Linked DNA regions of Homo sapiens: regions 1, 2, 3, 4, 6 and 7 are each linked to region 5. The links are contacts of gene promoters, found by promoter capture Hi-C in blood cells and fetal thymus (Javierre and others, 2016). All regions are on one chromosome and are shown on one strand. The core of a region is centred on a gene start or on the middle of the fragment in contact, and the rest is flanking DNA. Distances in the headings are between cores, read along the strand shown.

What was found. The method cuts DNA at HindIII sites, captures the fragments that hold promoters and counts their contacts. A CHiCAGO score of 5 or more calls a contact.
Region 1: a fragment that was not itself captured here is called in contact with the fragment with the promoter of LEKR1 in region 5 in 1 of 17 cell types (total B cells); the score reaches 7.8 in total B cells.
Region 2: a contact is called between a fragment that was not itself captured here and the fragment with the promoter of LEKR1 in region 5, in 10 of 17 cell types (total B cells, non-activated CD4 T cells, naive B cells and 7 more). The highest score is 12.8, in total B cells.
Region 3: a fragment that was not itself captured here is called in contact with the fragment with the promoter of LEKR1 in region 5 in 3 of 17 cell types (non-activated CD4 T cells, monocytes and M2 macrophages); the score reaches 7.4 in non-activated CD4 T cells.
Region 4: a fragment that was not itself captured here is called in contact with the fragment with the promoter of LEKR1 in region 5 in 1 of 17 cell types (total B cells); the score reaches 5.5 in total B cells.
Region 6: a contact is called between a fragment that was not itself captured here and the fragment with the promoter of LEKR1 in region 5, in 1 of 17 cell types (non-activated CD4 T cells). The highest score is 5.3, in non-activated CD4 T cells.
Region 7: a contact is called between a fragment that was not itself captured here and the fragment with the promoter of LEKR1 in region 5, in 1 of 17 cell types (total B cells). The highest score is 8.4, in total B cells.

Annotation. Positions count from the first base shown.
Region 1 is chr3:157,018,106-157,021,124 of GRCh38, reverse strand. The region is part of intron 10 of LEKR1 (leucine, glutamate and lysine rich 1); the gene reads right to left. Among named protein-coding and RNA genes, the nearest start is that of LINC02029, 62 kb to the left of the region's middle. The HindIII fragment of the contact is 7,622 bases long and covers 1-3,019 here.
Region 2 is chr3:157,055,691-157,058,617 of GRCh38, reverse strand. No RefSeq gene overlaps it. Among named protein-coding and RNA genes, the nearest start is that of LINC02029, 25 kb to the left of the region's middle. The HindIII fragment of the contact is 642 bases long and covers 930-1,571 here.
Region 3 is chr3:156,578,432-156,581,131 of GRCh38, reverse strand. No RefSeq gene overlaps it. Among named protein-coding and RNA genes, the nearest start is that of SSR3, 25 kb to the right of the region's middle. The HindIII fragment of the contact is 2,506 bases long and covers 126-2,631 here.
Region 4 is chr3:157,000,231-157,002,930 of GRCh38, reverse strand. The region is part of intron 9 of LEKR1 (leucine, glutamate and lysine rich 1); the gene reads right to left. Among named protein-coding and RNA genes, the nearest start is that of LINC02029, 80 kb to the left of the region's middle. The HindIII fragment of the contact is 426 bases long and covers 1,199-1,624 here.
Region 5 is chr3:156,824,699-156,827,663 of GRCh38, reverse strand. It overlaps LEKR1 (leucine, glutamate and lysine rich 1), which reads right to left and starts at 1,311. Exons shown (of 13, transcript NM_001004316.3): 1 at 1,288-1,311. RefSeq lists a silencer at 170-464 and an enhancer at 779-838. The HindIII fragment of the contact is 11,302 bases long and covers 1-2,965 here.
Region 6 is chr3:156,644,554-156,647,496 of GRCh38, reverse strand. No RefSeq gene overlaps it. Among named protein-coding and RNA genes, the nearest start is that of TIPARP, 29 kb to the left of the region's middle. The HindIII fragment of the contact is 289 bases long and covers 1,543-1,831 here.
Region 7 is chr3:157,037,478-157,040,330 of GRCh38, reverse strand. The region is part of intron 12 of LEKR1 (leucine, glutamate and lysine rich 1); the gene reads right to left. Among named protein-coding and RNA genes, the nearest start is that of LINC02029, 43 kb to the left of the region's middle. The HindIII fragment of the contact is 1,358 bases long and covers 695-2,052 here.

The sequences.
Region 1 (3,019 bases), core at 92-2,591, 190 kb before region 5:
ACCCCATCAAAAAGTGGGTGAAGGATATGAACAGACACTTCTCAAAAGAAGACATTTATGCAGCCAAAAGACACATGAAAAAATGCTCATCATCACTGGCCATCAGAGAAATGCAAATCAAAACCACAATGAGATACCATCTCCCACCAGTTAGAATGGCAATCATTAAAAAGTCAGGAAACAACAGGTGCTGGAGAGGATGTGGAGAAATAGGAACCCTTTTACACTGTTGGTGGGACTGTAAACTAGTTCAACCATTGTGGAAGTCAGTGTGGCGATTCCTCAGGGATCTAGAACTAGAAATACCATTTGACCCAGCAATCCCATTACTGGGTATATACCCAAAGGACCATAAATCATGCTGCTATAAAGACACATGCACACGTATGTTTACTGCGGCATTATTCACAATAGCAAAGACATGGAACCAACCCAAATGTCCAACAATGATAGACTGGATTAAGAAAATGTGGCACATATACACCATGGAATACTATGCAGCCATAAAAAATGATGAGTTCATGTCCTTTGTAGGTACATGGATGAAATTGGAAATCATCATTCTCAGTAAACTATCGCAAGGACAAAAAACCAAACACCGCGTGTTCTCACTCATAGATGGCAATTGAACAACGAGAACACATGGACACAGGAAGGGGAACATCACACTCTGGGGACTGATGTAGGGTGGGGGGAGGGGGGAGGGATAGCATTAGGAGATATACCCAATGCTAAATGACGAGTTAATGGGTGCAGCACACCAGCATGGCACATGTATACATATGTAACTAACCTGCACATTGTGCACATGTACCCTAAAACTTAAAGTATAATAATAATAATAATAATAATAATAATAATAATAATAAAAGAAAATCAGCAGGGTCCCTTTGATGAAGTTGAAATAAAATATTCAGGGAAGAAAAGGTGATGGCTGATGGCTTGAATGAGCTGAATGTTCTGTTTTACTCGAGTTAGAAAGCAAGATCTTGTTGCCCCTGAACTATTCTTTGAACTACTGTAGGTAAAGAGAGAAAACAAGGAAGGAATAAATATATGGACAGTGGGAAAGAACAAGCACTGTAGACAAAAGGGAGAAGAATGATTGACTATTACTAGCTTTGTTTTTAATTTGCACAATCTGAGAAAAAGAAGCAGAGTGATGAGTTTTCACATGGGATTTCAAACACTTAGGAAAGCTGCAGTGGGATGCTAAGAGCCATCTGAATGTGTTGACGTGTTAGCACAGAGAAATGAGATTACTGGTTCCTTCATGATCTGATTAGTTTGAACAAAATTATGAGCCCATAAACACAACGATTTGCTTAAGGGGTACATTATTTGCCTTTCAGTAGGTGCATTCATGCCAAATTGCCATGTTTTTATTTTTAAATGTTGATAGGAGCTGATAATTTAAAATATTTTAGATGACAGGAGTTATGTTTGAGCAAAATAAATAAATTTGTTGATGGTGTACATATAAAGCATGAACCACTTTATACAATAACTAATAGTAATTTTGATAAGAAGAAAATTATGATTTCTAAAAAAGCATGAATAATATTAACTTAAGAATTACACAAAGTAAAATCAATTATTATCTTTGTACACATCCCAGGTTTTAATTATTTTTGGTTTTTATTTATCTATATCCTCTTCTAGCTGAAACTCCATCTCCTTGGTGAAGGCCACCGGATGACTCCAGAGCATTCAGAGCATTGTTTTTAAATTTCTTTTGTATTTGTTGTTGAAATGCATAATTAGTACTTTATAAAATCTGTATTTAATACCAATATGCAAAATACTGCCTTTTCACTATTTTCCAAGCGAGGTCTTTGTGGTTGACTTTGTTATTATCATTTTTCTTATTGAACATGGAGCCAAACACCATGTTATAATATGACCATTTATTACTCAATGATACCTTTAAAACCAATGGGAATTTTAGATGCCAAAGTAGGAATCAAATAATTTGCTTATATTTGATATGCATATATAATTTTTAAAGATATGGCTCCTAAAATAAATTATTGTACTATTTTACAAAACTTAAAAATGAATACTGATTGCAAATTATTACAGTACTTTAGATTATTTCTGAAATAGCTACTGAATAAATAATAAAAGCAGATGATTATTCAAAACAGAATTTGCAGTTAAAAAATGAATGCTAAGGAATCAGAATATGTAGGCTGCAGGTCAAATCCTGTCAAGAACTATGTGAACTTAGGTTGGAAGGAGAGAATGTTCACTGAGTAAATGAATACAAGCTAGGGTGGTATGGTATAGGACACTTTCTATATATTAACTCTTTTAATTCTTACAACTCTAAGAATAACATAGAATAATAGAAGTATTACTCCCACTGTCTCGATTAAGAGATAGGCTCAGAGAAGTAAGTAACTTCACCAAGATCATAGAGCAACTACAAGGTGGAAACAATGTGTATACTCAGGTGTTGCCGGTGAACTCTATAGCTCAGTGTGTTTAGTTTTTTTTTCATGTAAGCTGTCCCCCCAACCCCTACATCTGTACAGCATAGTGGGCTCAGGGCGTGGTCTTGGTATTTATTTAGTTTCAAAATATTTAAGGATTGTCCAGATAACTTTCTGCTAACGATTTCTAATTTTATTTCATTGTGGTCAGAGAAAATATTTGTATGATGTGAATCCTTTTAAACTTATTGAGACTTATTTATAAGCCAAAATATGGTCGATTTTGGTAAGATGTTCATGTGCACTTGAGAAGAATGTGTATTCTGCTGTCAAATTGAGAATTCTATAAATATAATTTAGGTCAAGTTTGTTAACAATATCGTTCAATATATCTGTTAATAAATTTATACCATTTTCCATTGTATAAATCCTTACTGATTGTCTGGCTATTTTTCTATCAATTATTGAGAGAAGGAATTGATATCTTAGGCTCTAACTAGTGAATTTACTTCTCACAGTTCTATCAGTTTTTGCTTCATGTAATTGTAAGCTCTGTTTTTAGGTGAATGAACATTTAGGGTTAT
Region 2 (2,927 bases), core at 1-2,500, 230 kb before region 5:
CACTCACACCCAGCCCAACTTGTAACATTTCTAGGCCTTTGCCATGTGCACTGAAGGGGAAGAACAGAGTGGAGAGGCACTGCATGTCTTTGGCCAGTGGCGATGGTAAACACAATCTCACTTGAAATTTATACAGTTGTCCCTTGGTATCCTTGAGAGATTGGTTCCAAGACTCTCACAGATACCATGTTCAAGTCCCTTATATAAAATGGCATAGAATCTGCATATAATGTACATACTTACTGCCGTATACTTTAAATCATCTCCAGATTTACTTAAGATACCTAATACAATGTAAATGCTATGTGAATACTTGTTATACTGCATTTAAAAACTTTGTCTTTTAAAAATTAATGCATTGTTATTTTTTATTGTTTATTTCTTTTAATCACTGGTTGGTTGAATCCATGATATGGAACCCACAGATACAGAGGGCTGACTGTAGTAGAAAATCTCACTTCAGAATCTGTAACTACAACCTGACCCTCACCTGGCTTTTTGTATGAATTTATATCCCCCACATATGAAAAATCAAAAAAGAATTTTAATTGAAGTGGTCTCAGAATGTTTGTATAATTAACTGGGAGGGACAAATGCAAATCTTCTCTGGAAAAATGCAATCTCAATTAGGTCTCAAAGAATTCTTATAGATAAGGTTCCAAGGGACACAACTTCACATTGAAACACATATACACATAGTCACCTTTCCTTGAGAAAGATCTAGCCCGCCTTGAGGATGAGCACGGGAAAACAAAGCACCATGAATGAGAACCATCAAAAACAATAAACAGTAAAATCAGATCCATAAAGATTATTAGACTCGGAATATAAAATAGCAAGTTTGATGTGTTTAAAGAAATGAAAAGTTTACAAGCAAGGAATAATAGTTTTTACAAAATCTAGCACATTGAAGAAAATCAAATAAAGCTTTTGGAAAGAAATAATTGCTTTAGGCAGTAAGATTATGAGGCCAGATGCAGGAAGGTCTGAGATGTGAGAAAAAATTGTGGACAAATAAATCAAAAAATACATTGGGTAAAGCTAAATAAACATTGGCTACATGTAAAAATAATAATAATATCTAATTTGTGAGATTAAAAAACAATATAGAATCCAAATACTAGCCAAAGTATAATACAAAATGGAAGAAGATGAAAAATTATAAAGTATTCTATGGTTCCTGCATTGCTTGGGTACAGCATCAAGAAATTAACTTTAAGCAAGCACGTTAACATGTCTATGGTAACTCCTAAAATTAAAATAGAGATAATTGCTTCCAAAGAAGCAGAAGGTAGAGGAGGTGGGGAGAGGAATAAGCAAAAGAAGAAAACAAAAAAGATGGCAAGAGACAGGGCAGAAAGCTAGAAAAATAGAAAGCACATAAGAAGGTAGAAATAAATCAAAGCAAAAAGAACAAAGATAGAGTTTTAAGATCCTCTGCATGATAACAAAACAATGGGAGTTTATACACACTCTAAAATCATGAGTGTTAATTTCATACTGCTACTAACAGTGAATAAGTAGCGTAGATGTCCTTTGGGAATAAAAGGCTTTATTCCATAAAAGAAGCTTTAAACTTTTGAAGGCCTGTCTCTCAAAAATGGACGTTTATAGACAGTTTTCAAGAGCGCTCTTACGGTTACTAGATTTAGAACATGTTTTTATTCTTGTAAAATTTGGCCTTTGACTTTATCTGAGAATTTTATCTTGTGAACTGCTGTGTTGTTTGTTAGTTCTCCTTCTCCTTTCACTCCTATATTAATACTTTTTCTCCTTTGTATTTAGGAGGACCTGGTATTTTTAAGGCTAGAGATGGAATACCATTTTTTTTTTAAAGAAATGAAGCAGAAAGTTCAAGACCTCAAGACTTAATATAGAAAGTGATATTTTAAAAAAGGAATGCGGTCTATAATATCGTGCTTCGACAGGATGCTAAATAGCTTCCTAAAGGATCCTTATAAGATTCCACAGTGGATCCTTTCCATGGGTTTTTTTTTTCTTGGTCCTACGTGCTACTTCTTTATTTTGTTCTGTAATGCTTTTTGCCATAGTTTCTGAGTTCTTTGTTTGTTTGTTTGGTCACCAAAAGGACACAGAGATGTCTTCAAATTTGCTCAGGGTTGAGCAGCATATTCCTTCTCAGAGGCACAACTGGAGGGCAAGATGATGTGCATAGCCTCTAGTCCAGTTCCCAGTTTATTTGTGCCTATTTGCCTAATCCAGGCTTTGCCACTTCTTACCTGTGTCAGTTTGAGTGAATTGCTAACTTTTCTATAGCTCTGTTTTCTTATCTGTAAAAGGAAACCAGTAAACATACCAACACCACATGGTTCTTTGAGGTCTAAAAGTGTTTAAAGCCCTGAGCACCATACATTGCCCATCATAAATAATACCTGTCAGCTCCTATAATGTTATTGTTACTATACTGCTGCTGCTGCTGCTACTACTGTGGTGTACCTGGAATCTTCCAACATAGCCAACTTCTCTATACATGCTGCTTAGTCTTCTGACATCATTGCTGCACAGAGAGAATTCCACGTCCCAGGATCTAACACCACTGCTCATCTCTCCCTCCCCACCACCACTCACACAAACTTTTTTAGCCTTTTTTTCAGACTTGCCATCTTAGAATGTTCCCAGCAAAGTGGCCTTCGGTGCCTTGAGGGGCAGCACCCAGTTGGCACAGCAATGAAGGTCCAGTTTCTTTTTATGATTATTATTTGTTTGTTTTGTTTTTTTGAGATGGAGTCTCACTCTGTCACCCAGGCTGGAGTGCAATGGCATGATCTCGGCTCACTGCAACCTCCGCCTCCCGGGTTCAAGCGATTCTCCTGCCTCAGCCTCTGAGTACCTGGGACTACAGGCTTGTGTCAGCACGCTCGGTTCATTTTTGTATTAGAGATGGGGTTTCACCATGTTGGCCAGGC
Region 3 (2,700 bases), core at 129-2,628, 250 kb after region 5:
TTCTTAAATTCTGGTGCTACTGTCAAAGTGGCGAAGTGGCACGCAGTGGCTGGTCATGGGGTTTCTGCAGGATGTTGGATGTTTCTCCCGGTTAGGTTGTTCACAGTCCAGGTAATACCCAAGCTTGGTTCAAAACTACAGAAAATCTACTGAATGCGCTAAAGGAAGATTTGAGAAAATGAAGAATAGTTGACCAGGTGAAAAGACTAAATTTTATACAACTGTCAATTATTAAATTGATAGATTTGGTTGCAGTGTGTGTAGAAGGGTGTGGGTGGGGTGCTTTTTCCCTACTCCTCTGGTTTTCATGAGGAGAGATGTTGTGAGAATATAATCTGTCATAAAGTAGGCATCAAAATCTACGAGTTAAATCATTATTTAGTAAATGATACTGAAACAATTGAATACATGTTTAGGAAATAAATCAGAATAGATCCTCATTTTATAGTTAACATCGTACCAAATCCAATATGGAGTAAAAAGAACATAACAAATCAAATTTAAAATACCAAGATGAAAAAATATATGCCTTTGTAGTAGTTGTAAGTGAGAGGAAGTAAAAAGGGATCGGGGGTAGTTTCTGAACTTGAAAGTGTTGGAAGAAATGTAAAAAAGAAAAAAATAGTGCACTTGACCACACAAACATTATAAATTTCTATAAGTGTTTTAGTCTTTTAATTAAAACATTCTCAATAAACTTAGAATAACTTTTGCATCAATATGAAAAACAGCTTATTATGTAAAATGCTCATGCATATGAATTGAAATCAGCAAAAACATAATTTCTAAACATCTACCCCAGGCCAGGTCTGTGCTGGATACTTTGCAAACATTCAGTTAAAAAAACACTTCAAGGTGGATGTGTCCAGTCAACCCAGGTAGAAACTCAGGGTCAGAGTTATATAGGGGTGTGCATAGTAATTCACCTAATGGAGCATCTTTTGTTTTTTCCTACGAAATAACTGTTTCTTCCTAGCCCCACCGCAGCCAGGTTCATAATTGAACCCTGATTCCCTGCAGGTACTTTTTCCCTGTGTTCAAGGGAGTCTGGCCTCCTCCCCAGACCAGGAAGTGGGTTCTGAATCGTCTCAATGTGGAATGGAAGGTGTGATTCCAGTGATTAGGAGTGGATATGTGGCAAATTCTGGCTCACAAGAGAGGGAGAAATCATCTCAGGGGCTTTGGAAAATAATTTTTTGCCCTTATAAACAGACAGTGCCTTTTTTTGTTTCTGGATGCTGTTGTGTGTAAGTGTGATACATGGAAGTCTTCACCTGAACACAGGGTGATGGAGGATGGAGGAGTGGCTATCTGAAGGAAATCAGAGTTTGATTATGAACCTGGCTGAGGTGGGGCTGGGAAGAAATAGCTGTCTCATAGGCAAAAACATAAGGTGCCTCATTAGATAAGTGACTAGGCATGCCTCTACACATCTCTGACCCTCCGTTTCTACCTGGATCAACTAGAAATGTCCAACTTATAGCACGTTTTTTTTTTTTAACTGAATGTTTGCAAGTGCATGATCTCATGATCAAGTGGGTGGGGCAGAGCCACACCATCTCAGGGAAAAAGGTCTGAGCCCTAATCATACTCATCCCTTCCCCCATGCAGCTCTATTTAGGGACTTCCTCTTTTGGGAGATAGTACATTTCCTTAATATTTAGTCCTGTGGAAACTGGGTGTTCCATTGCTCACTGCCAAAGGCCTAAATAGTGCAAGTAAATTGAAGAACTGAGGTTTGAACCCATAGAACACACAATTCTAAATGGGAATATAAACAATTAACTAACACTTGGAAAAGAAGTTTCGGCAATTCTAAATGGGAATATAACCAATTAATTAACATATGGAAAAGTTTCAGCCTCATTAGTAAGCAAAGAAAGGTAAATTAAGCAAGATTGAGAATCTGTTTTTTAAAAACTACTACATGACAAAAGATTTTTTTGATGGTGAGTACTGCCGTACTTTGCTGGCATTTGAGAATGTAAACTCCCGTAGCTCTTTAAAAATAATAACAGCAGCTATCATTTATCCAGTGCTTACTACATGGCAAGCAGTATGCAAAGCAAGCAAATGGATTTAACCCTTATTCCAGTGAAATGAGTATTATTATTATCTGCAGTTTAAGGATAAGGATTAAAGAGATCCACTGACTTGCTGAGGTCTCACTGGTACAAAGGACCCTTTGTGGAAAGACGATTCCATAAATGAACCAAACATGTGCCAATAGCGCTGGTCAAGTAGAGGCCCCCCTCAAAAAATATTTTTGAGAAAAAAATTTTAAATAGAATTTGCAATTTCATGTTAAAAAATAAAAACATTAAAGTAGATACCACAGGGAAACATTCATTATGAGCCATCCTCACAACCGATTTTCAGCTAGGTGTTGTATTTATTTGAGTTTCCTAAATGAGTGTGTGGGTAGCCCCACACACTTATAGTTGCTGAAGGCCTCTAAGTGTCTCTCTCCAGCCCAGGGAGCTGTGATTCAACCTGATGTGACTCCAAAGCCTGTGCTCATCGCAGACCACAGGGAATCGACTTAGAAAGTAATTTAGCAAATTAAATCAATAGCCTCAAAAACGTTCATATTTCTTAATCTATTAAATATTGTGACAAATTGTAAAAGCTTTAAGAATAAATACACGAAAGGCAGAGTTCCTTACGATAGTAAAGATCAGAAATTAATACAAATGTTTA
Region 4 (2,700 bases), core at 162-2,661, 180 kb before region 5:
CTGATGGACTCAGTACATGGAACTCATGTTAAATGTAACCTTTTGGAAGAAAAACTTAAAAAGTCTAGTAGATTATAGCAGCTAAAATATAGTAAGCTAGGATGCAAACAATGTTAATGAAGTGATAATTATTCACTGAATTTTCAAGGAATTATGAAGTTCTTTATGACATTTCTAACAAAGTATATGGTGTTTTGAGTAAATTGTTATAAAAATATAAATTTGTATCTGTGATGGTAATTTTGCTTGATATTATGGTTACAGAAATGAGAAGGACTTTTATACCGCTTTGATTCCCTGCTGAGCCTCCATTCCTGACTCTAAGAAATCTTCAGTGAGACTCTTTAATGGGATAAAGCAGAAAGAATAATTATACGTGATGTTATATGCACTCATTGTTCTTGATTAGAATGGAATGGGCAGTGAGTAACGTATACAGGAATGATTATATGTGTGAAAAAGATAATCTAGATTCCAAAAATAAAAATCACACTTGTACAGTACAACCATGGGGCTGCTCACACATTGTTCAAGATCATAAAACAATCTTAGGCCATTGATAAAGAGAAAACAATCTTGTGTTGAAAAAAACTATGAAGAACCAACTCTGACTCACGTAGGACTTTTTGCTAGAAATTTAGAGGAATTGTAAGAAATAAAATATTTATTGTAAAGGCATAGTACATATTTTTCCATGTTATAAGTAGCTGAAAATGTATAGCTATTTAGGTATCTGACTTCTTTTTCTAGAACCAGTTCAAGAGATGTTGATGTTTTAGAATTATAGGAAACGACACAGATTTAGATTCTAAATTTAAATTTTACTAAGAATCTAATAAAGAAGATTACCATTAGAATCCAGGAGTTCTCATTGTACTCCTAGGTCTGATTTTTGAAAGTCAAAAGCTCTCTGGCCTGAAAGAAAAACTGGAGCTTCCCAGTTTTAAATTCCATGATCAGTTGTTTGATAGAAATTAAATTCATTCCCATCCATGCATGCATCCATCCCTACAGCAAATATTGAGAGCTGACTATGTGTCTGGCACTGTTTTATTCTCTGGGGATATAGTGGTTCTTTCTTTTCATTCCTTAGAAATATGTTAATACAACTCCCTCCGTTTTAGAAGAAATGAAGACCTGAGTGATAAATGACTATCTGAGGTGACATGATTCACAAGTGACAAAGCTAACTCAAGCTTATGCCAGCCAGCAGTATGTCATGCTGTCTTTGCTTTGCATATCTCAGATGGAGGTGTGGCTATTGACATTCTACCCTGCAATTTCACCAGATAGGTTTAAAATTAAAATTTTTGGAGTTGCCACAATTAGGACTTATTCACAATTAAGAGTATTTATTTTAAAAACTTTATTAAATTATTGGACCAAAAGGAAAATGAGAATCTTATTTCTTATGTACATGCGAATCCAGATTCCCTTAATTGCAGTTAAAAACATAACTGCAAACAAATGTCAAACCATAATGCCAAAATGACAGTTTTAAATTCTGTTTCACAAGTTGTTCTCTTAGAGATGTCTTCACATTGTCAATCAAAGAGATAATTTTGATTTTGCCACAACTCCTGCCTCTGTTAAAAGAAGTGAGTGTGTGATAACATAAGAAGCTTGGCAAGCCTCTTGTTCTGAGAGCTGTTGATGGATAGGAAATCAGAGAAAGAGGTGAGTCTTGGAGAAAAAACCTGATAAAATTTATTGTTTTCAATTATTACTTAGAACATTTCATAATGCTTTAAACTAACAGATTAGCATCTGTAATAGTATGTTTTAACACTGCTATAAAGACATACCTGAGACGGGGTAATTTACGAAGGAAAGAGGTTTAATTGACTCAAAGTTCAGCATGGCTAGGGGAGGCCTCAGGAAACTTATGGCAAATCATGGCAGAAGATGAAGAGGAAGCAAGGCACATTCTTTACAATGTAGCAGGAAGGAGATGTGCCAAGAAAAGGGGGGAAGAGCCCCTTATAAAACTGTTAGATGTCTTGAGAACTCACTCACTATTACAAGAACAGCATTGGGGAAACTGCCCCCACGATTCAATTACCTCCACCTATTCTCTCCCTTGACACCTGGAGATTATGGGAATTACAATTCAAGATGAGATTTGGGTGGGGACACAAAGCCTAACCATATCAGCATCCAAATGGAATCACTCCAAGGATTAATCTTTACAACTGTATGAGTAAAGCAGATAATAATGAATTCAACAGATATTTACTGAATATCTTACATGGCCGGTGCAGGGAATAAAAATTAATAAGACATGGTGCTTTAAGATGTTAGCAATCTAAAGAAAGATGAAAGAGAGGAAACTAATACTTTCTGAGTACCTACAACCTACCAGGCACAATATTTTAAAATTCTTAAGAAGATAGCTATTATTAAAATGCCCACGTTACAGATAGGGAAAAGAAGCCTTAATTGCCCAAGCTTAACAGTGGTCAAGTTGGGATTTACTCTATGTTTACCTAATTCTAAAGTCCATTCTTTTTAAACTAAGAATGGACTTTATCTTGCATCACTTCTTAATCCTTTTTCTTATCTAATACTAGATATAGCTAATCACTAGTCATTGCTTCTAGAATTTATGAAAATATAACAAGCCTCAATGAAATAAGTAAACAGTTTACATTTTTAGAATGCAGTTGTGAATTATTTTTATTCTATTTTCCATCTGAAGAT
Region 5 (2,965 bases), core at 62-2,561:
ATGCAGAAAGACAACAATTTTATTAGGCATTCAACTAGACTTTGATGCACATCACGGCTAATCTGCTAATGAGGTTACAAAGAGAGAAGGAAATCCCTCTTTTATACAGCCAAGGAGACACAATCCATTACACATTCTCAAGGAAACTGGTAACGTGTCCTCATGTAAGAGGGCTTAACATAGTGTTCTATACATTCTTTTATATTTCCTCTTTAATTCATCTGGTAATTGGGGTAACCACCTGTGTTAGCTAACGGCTTTCCTCCTAAGTAATGCACAGCTCCATAACGAAACAGGTGTTTACAATTAGGAATAACGCACCTAGGTTAAACTCCCAAAGTGACAAGGAGACTGGGGCCCTATCTTCCTTGATGTTTACATTTTAAAGAAATGGCTTCCAGGTCCTCAAGAAAAGCATTCCTAGGTCTTTAAAAACATTTGCATACATATTAAATAGAGGAAGCATTCACAAATACTAAGTTTCTCAAGAAAAAAGAAGGGTCTTTCCCTTTTGGCAACAGGGAAAATCTGTAATTTTTTAAATTTAGTCTTACATAGTTTTGCGTGTGTTATCAAACAAGTCCCTTTAATCCTTTCTCATTGCACGTATGTGGACCGCACTTTGGCAAGAGGTGCAGTGATAAGTGGCTGCAGCTACGTGGGTGTTTGTGAACCTCCTCTCTAACAAGATCACCGAAAAGACATTTTTTAAAATGCAGACACGTCCTTGTTCGTTTCCAATTCCGTTTCTCACACTAGTGTCACGTCAGGCCATTAACTCACGTTCAGCTTTCAAGCCCTTACGTAAAGAACCATTCCCATGGCGTGAATCACCCACAACGAGCAGGTCAGGGGCAGGTGAAGGCGGGAGTTCACATCCTAAGACTTTCCTGAAGCGGCAGGCTCTTCCACACAGAAACCAACCGCAAGGCCAGACAAAACTGCTGGAATGGCTTTCAAATCTGTCCCTTTCTAACCCCGTTCCCCCTGGACCTGCAGTGGCCGGAAGAGGAGGAGGAGGAGGGTGCGGGGGTGAGGAAGCAGAGCCGCGCGTTCCCCGGGGCTGGGAGGAAGGCGGACCGCGCCTGGGCCCCGCGGGCTGGCAGACACCAGGAAGGGGCCGCAGAGGAGCGTGGTGGCGGAGTCCAGACCCGGGGCCTCGTGCTCTCGCTGGGGCGCCGCGGCTCAGCTTTCTGGCTCTCTCCCCGGGTGCGAGCACGCCTCCACTCCGGAACTGCATTTGGAGGACCGGGTCATCCCAGGCTGAGGAAAGCCATCGTCCCTCACCTCGACTTCGACTAGGACGGGTGTGAAACGGCTTTCCCGGTCTCCCGGGCGACCGCGCCGCCAGTCGGCTGGACGTCAGGGCGCGGCGACGTCACGGCCCACGTCTGTCGTCAACGCTCCCCTGCACCGCCCAGGGTCTCACGCGCCGGGCGGAAGTGGGAAAACTGGTGGTGGGGCTCGGAAGGCTGGGCTAGTCTTACGCGGAATGCTGTGAGAGGGAGGGAAGGGGATCGAGGGATGAGGTGGGCGAGAGTGGGTCGGGTGCTTGGTAGCGACTGCTGAGATGGAGGGAGCTGTCCCAGCCTCGTGGGGGGTTGGAGAGAGGCACTGCCGGGAGTCGGGAGTCGGGAGCCTATAGCCCTACCTATCACCCCTTGCTCTGGGGCCTATGTGGTAGACACAGCAGTGAGCAGTTACTGTTCTTGAGCAGAGGAAAAAGAGATGCCTGTAGAGGTCATGGGTGTAAAGGGAAGTTCTGGTTTCAGTCATTACAGCCAGGACAAATTAATTGGGAAGGCGTTGGTGACATTTCCATTCTAGTCCAAAGTAGTGAAGATTAAGGGCTTAGTTCAAAAAGTATTTTGAGACCTCCTAGTCTACACTTTATTTATCGCAGGCTACCCACCCTTACACGTGACTAACTTCCCTTTGTTCATACATTCATTCATAAAACAAGTATTTATAGACCTACTACGCGACAAGCAGAGCAGCATACCGAGATAGGGTGATACTCTGTGACTGGTCAAGGCAGGAGCAGCCATTGGTGTAATTAGCAGGTGACTCATTCGTAGTCCAGATCTTGCCTTTCTGAGGATTATATAAGGTCGAAGTACAGTTCTTCCAAGAACCAAAGAAAACATCGATGGCTCTGTAGCAGGCAAAGAGACTGGTTTGCTATTGAATAAAATAAGATTAAGTAAATACAAAGAAAATTAATTGAACCTATAGATTTAGAGAAGTGATTAAATGACGCAGAGCAGTATCGGTACACCAAACTGCTTATTGATAACTACTAATTAATGACACCAGGAAGTACTGAACACTAGTGCCTTGTTCCTTGGCACTAAAAAGTCTAGTAGATGTGGCTGGGCGCGGTGGCTCGGGCCTGTAATTCCAGCACTTTGGGAGGCCAAGGCGGGCAGATCACAAGGTCAGGAGATCGAGATCATCCTGGCTAACACGGTGAAACCCCGTCTCTACTAAAAATACAAAAAAGTAGCCGGGCGTGGTGGCGGGCGCCTGTAGTCCCAGCTACTTGGGCTACTCGGGAGGCTGAGGCAGGAGAATGGCGTGAACCTGGGAGGCAGAGCTTACCCTGAGCCGAGATAATGCCACTGCACTCCAGCCTGGGCGACAGACCAAGACTCAGTCTCAAAAAAAAAAAAAAAAAAAAAAGTCTAGTAGATGTATCTTGTACATTTAACCTGACTGATATTTTTGCCCCAATGCCTACCCTTGATTTTCTGTTTCCACTCCCTCAAAGAAGAAAGGATTAAGAGGCCTAGAGGACAGTCAACCAAGTGGTCAACTATAACATGCTTATGAGAAGCCCAAATAACTTTCAGAGCTATTCATCCTCGTCATATTTATCTGAGAGATAGTGAGGGTAGGACTGCTCTCATTTTGTGATAATGGAAGTTTAGATACAGGGCACCAAAACTGGTACCTATCTGGGACA
Region 6 (2,943 bases), core at 438-2,937, 180 kb after region 5:
TATGTGAATGTTCAGAAAAACCCAGTCAAACTTTCATATATTAGTTACAGATAAATAATGGAATCTTCAGGAACTCTTTTTTCTTTCCTATGTCTGCTGAATATGACTCCTTCCCAGTGGCTGGTCCTACCATCACCTGGAAAAAAACTCTTCAAAGCTTCTGATCTACTTCTTTCCTCAATTTTTACTTCACCCCATGAGGCAGAGTTAGGATTTATGGTAGGAGGATAAAAGGAGAAAAGAGAATAATCATGAATAATATTAGCAATGAATGTTAAGCACTTTCAATATGCCATATATTGTGTTCATTAGTCAGTATTGCCTAGGTTTGCTGTGATAACAAGCAATCCCCAAAGCTCAGTGACTTATAACTTGTAATAACAAAGGTTTCTTTTTTGCTATTTTAGATCTTTATTGTATGCTGGCTCTGATTTTAGTCTATATTTTCTTTACTATGTGACTTTGAGGAATGGAGCAATAGCTGTCTGGAACATTGCAGGTCATTATGGTAGAGGGAAAAGAGAAACATGACAAATGGTGTATTGGCTCTTCAGTCTTCTTCCTCAAAATGTCATGTGTCACATTCACTCATATTTCATTGGTTAAATCAAATCTCATGGCCTAGGCTGACATCAGTGGGGTTGGGAAGTCTAATGCTCCCCCAGGGAGAAACACCAAATATTTGTGAACAATAAAGTAGTCTACTATACTGTACTAAGCACTCAAATATTTTCTCCTTTTGTCTTCATAACAGCCTTCTAGAAATAGGTACTATTATTGTTTTATTTTAGAGATGAATAAACTAAGGCTCAGAGAGTAACCTGGCAAAAGTCAAACAATATGAAATGGTAAGGCGTGGTCCCAGATTGTCTGACCCTACTGTAATTGTATTATACTGCCATCAAATGAGAAAAGGAAAAGAAAGGAGCTGGGAAGGAATGAGCAGAAAGAAAGGAAAGGAAGCAAGATATTAAAAATAATTGCAAACTACTTCTTAAGGAAATCAGATGCAGTGATAAGAAAGGGGTAAGGAAAAGTAAATGGGAAAGATGAGAGAAAGGAAAATGTTCTTTTATCTTATTGCTTGCCAGTCCACCTGCATATATCCATCCTGCATCACATGCCTTTATCTTATGCCATCCCAAGAAAGCCCAGCTCCTGTCTCTCCACATTCCAAAGTCTCTAACCCCATGACCTACCTCGAGGTTCCCCAGAGTCCTAGTCTATTTTAATTGATTGTTCTTTTTATACTGTGCAAAAAAGTGAGTTAAACTTATAAATTTAGCATTGACAAAAAACATTTCTATTCTTTATACCTGGCATGTTATAAAAATGCAAACACTTGATACTTTTCTATTGTTGCCTTTGGAAACATGCATATTAGTGATTTGTATCTGCCCTTTGAATAAAAACCAGTATCCAAAGTTTTCTGAAGCAATTCTGTGAGAACGGAAGGTGAATATAGCTCATTAATATAACTTTAAAATTACATTAAAGTGGGAAAAGAAACTGGAAAATATCACTAGCGTTAACGAAAAAGCTTAAAATCTGTGTTCTATAAAATGCTCATACAAAATGAGCTGAGGAAAGAGATGCCTCTTCCAAGAGGAACTAACCAGTAAACAAATACATGGAAAGGATTTCATCCTCACTAGTGGTAAAAGAAATGCAAATTAAAACAAAAATGAGGACTATTTTGTGTTTATTAAAGGGGCACACAACTCTTTCAATGTCACCACTTGATTATGAGTTGTTTTTTCAGTGAAATTATTATAATCTTAAAGTGTTGTTGATACTTCTTGTAGGAACTATGTGTAACATATAACAAGCTTGTATGGGTTAAATCATACTGTTTAAGCCTCTACTTTCCCGAAAATGAACCATGAGCTTGTCCCAGCATTCCAGTGGGGCTGCTGCAGTGGCTGGATACATTTCTGATGGAGAAATGTCTATCTCAAATGTAAAAGGTGGGAGGCTGTGGGTGGAACCTTCAGAGTTCCTTAGTCACTAGAAGAAATAAAAACCTCCTCATATCCAGGGTTTTGACCTTTGATCCTACCTCTTAGAATAGATTCTGAACAAGTAATTCGTAAGGGAAAAAAAGCCAAATAGACAAAGATTCGCTGCATTATTTCTTATAGAAAAGATTATGAAATGTATGTTGGACAACAGGAAAATAATGTAAAAGATGATGTAGCTATTAAAATGTAGATTACAAGGACTACACAGCAACATGGAACATGCTTCTGAAATTGTATTAATTGAAAATGGCAGAAGGCACCCACTGTGATTATCCACAATGGCTAGAAAAGATCAGGGCCAAACAAAAAGTTGGATTTGCTGAGGTGACAAGATTGTAGGCAAAAGTTTTCTTTCAGTTATTTAGATTTATTGTGTAATACAGACAGAATATTTATGTAATTAGAATTTTATTTTCAGAGTAAAAGAGAAATAGGATACTGTGACCCTTTCCTACTCTTATTGGAGGCTTCAGGATTTCACTATAATGCAAAGCTCCAAATCAAGCTCAGTTTTGGTATTTTCTGATAAATATTAGAAGCTCACTCCTAATTTGAAATGGTCAGCCTTTTTCATAGGATGGTTTATGTGTAGATAAGTAGCTCTTACATTAATCCAATTAACTTGGAAGATTGTAGGCAGGAATGTACACCAATCATAGTGTCCACTTGTTAAATTTTTTAAATTACAGGACAAAGCATAGGAGAAAATGGCATTTTAAAATTATGGTATTCACATTTAAAAAATACTCAATATATTTTTGTTTTCAACCATGTTTCAGGTGATGAATCTCTACATTTAAGGCAGTGGATTTAGCTGTAAATCTGAAACAAGAAGTGCACAATTTCACCTGTGTTTCCAGACTTCTGGATGCTCTTGTAGTGTTTTTATTGTACTTTTTTCAGATCAACAATTGGACCCATT
Region 7 (2,853 bases), core at 124-2,623, 210 kb before region 5:
CCCTCAGACTGATATGCTTCAGAGGCAGATTTTCAGGACAGAGAGGAAGAGCCCATGATGACAAAGTATTCAACATTTACTTTTCTAAGTCAATAATCCAACTTAATTTAGATTTAATTAGCACTAATTAAACATACAAAATTTAACTAGCACTAATTAAATATACAAAAATTTCTCAATATATCTTCTCATTCTGTCAACTTTCTGGTATCTTCCTCACCACAGAGACTCCCAGTCTGAGCCCCCTTCTGCCCCATGGCCCAAGGCTAAGGTTCTCAGGTGGTCAGTTCACTCATCCTCCCTGCCAACCAAGCCTAGGTATAGTCCCTGTCCCTAAAAGCTTTCTTGATCCTCCCCATGTTTCCTGCTGGAGGTTGGAGAACCTCCCTTTACCCTCTTACTCTTTAAAAAAGACGTAAATATTCTAATTTATTATGTTCCCAAACTGAGAACTACTTTTTGGTAATTTACTTGCTGGTACTTTGGCTTCTCCATTCTCATAGAAGGAATTACCAGAGAAGTGTGTGCCATATTCTGTATACTGATTAAACATGCAAATGTAATAAATGCTTACCCTAAAACTAAGCAAGTCCCTCTTGCAAATAAACTATTTGTGCTTGCAAATACCATGTATTATTAAAATTTAATCTTAGAGTTTACATGAATCCGTCTTTGCTAGATTTGTTAATAAGCTTTTTTCTTTTCGTTTTTTGAGACAGGGTTTCAGGTTGTTGCCCAGGCTCGAGTACAGAAGCACGATCACGGCTCATTATAGCCTCAACCCCCGAGGCTCAAGCAGTCCTCCTTCCTCAGCTTCCCAAGTAGCTGGGACTACAGGCGTGTGCCACCATGCCCAGCTAATTTTTGTATTTTCTGTAAAAACAGGGTCTCCCTATGTTTCCCAGGCTGGTCTTGAACTCCAAGCTCAAGCAATCCTCCCATCTTGAGCTCCCAAAATGCTGGGTTATAGGCGTGAGCCACCACACTTGGCCTGAACTTTCTTATGTAAATGGAATTTCTTTCTTTCTTTTTTTAAAAATAGAGTTTACATTGGAAACATATTTTCAAAACACCAAAATGTTAAAAATAACCCATGATGCCAATGTTTTTAAAAAGTATGTAAGAAGTAAAACCCCTGTCTATCTCTTCCTACACTTCTAAGGTAACCACTGTTAATAGGAGGCAAATCCTTGATTTTTTCCTATCATCTTGGTAGCCCTGTAGAGATACACATGTACTTTCCTTTGTTTTTTAAACAAAAGAGATTCGAGATGCTAGGAGATTGTTGGGCAATAAACAATAAAAACAGCTGTTTTAATGAAAGCCAATACAGATCTATAGTCCTTTAGCCTTACTTTTGACATCCAAAAAGCTCTGAAAAGAAAAAAATGCTGTAGCTCATCACAGTTAGTGATAAAATCTGACTGAACTGATAGGAGGCTAATTACAGTCTTTATTCTATTTCATGTGAACATTCAGATGTTTCACTGCAGAAGTATTAATGTCATTGCATGGGGAGGCTGCCCTACATCTATGAGGACATACTGTACTTACTAACTTTCTAAAATTCAAAATAATTTTATATCTGAGCACAAAGTTTTCAGATAAGGGACTGTGGGCCTGTCTATATTGCATGTACCCTTCTTTAAATACAGTCTTTCTTTAGAGTCCTTGATAGTGTTCTCTTCCGGTTTTCTTCCCACCTCACCAGAAGTTCCTTTTCTGTCACCATCGCTAGATTCTACTCCTCTTCCCAGGCTCTAAAAGTTAAGAGTGCCTGTTCTCAACCCTTGCTCTATTACCTCATCCTCTGGGTGATCTCATTCAGTCCCAAGGGTTAAGTATCAGCTACATGTGGAATTGTCCAAAATCGACATCTCCAGCTTGCCTTCCCTATGGACATATTGCCTAGTCAACATCTCCACTTGGGTATCTAACAGGCATATTAAGATCAACATGTCCCAAATAAAATTCTTGATATTCCTCCCCAATTGTATTTCTTTTCTAGCATTTCCCATCTCAGCACTCTCTCAGTTGCTGAGATTCCAAGCTTTGGAGTTATCCTTGACTCCTTTTTATGCTTTCATATCATCCAATCAATCAGCAACCTCTATTGCCTTCACCCCTAAAATATATCCCAAATCTGGTGATTGGTCACCTCCTTCACAGCCTTGCTCTCTTTTTTGCCCTCTTCAACCTATTTTCTACACAGAAGTCAGTTATCCTCTAAAAATAAGTCAGATCATGTCAATTCCTTGTTCGAAATTCCTAGGTGGCTTTCTATCACACCTAGCAAAGTATCCAAAGACCTTATCATAGCCTACGAAGACTCCATGTGAACTGGCCCTTCAACCTTGGTTTCTATCACTATCCTTGCTCACTAAGCTCCAGCAGTGCTTGCTGACTTCCTTGTGGCTTCTTTAAGGTTCCCAGTATGTTCCTTGCTGCAGAGTCTTTCTATTACCTTTGCCTGGAGTGTTCTTTCCCTGGAATGCTCTTTGCCTCATTATTTCCTCAGAGTCCTCTTACTACCCCATCTAATATAGCACCCCTCCTTCAGAAAGTATCCCTTTTACCCTGATTTATTTTTTCCTTAGCATCTATAAAAACAACAAAACTCTTTACCTGTTAAATGAATGCATAAATAAGCAACTGCAGTAGGCACACAGGTGTATAGCTAATTTTGCCTCTGGGATTTTGTGGATTCATGGAGGGGTTCTCCTTGCACTTAGACTTGGGGAATAAACAGAAGTGTACTAGGCACCTGTTACTAAGTTTAAGCTAGAATCTGCTTTGTCTTAATTTTTTCATTTCTCATAATCTGAAAAGAAAATCTCATTAAGGTTTATATTC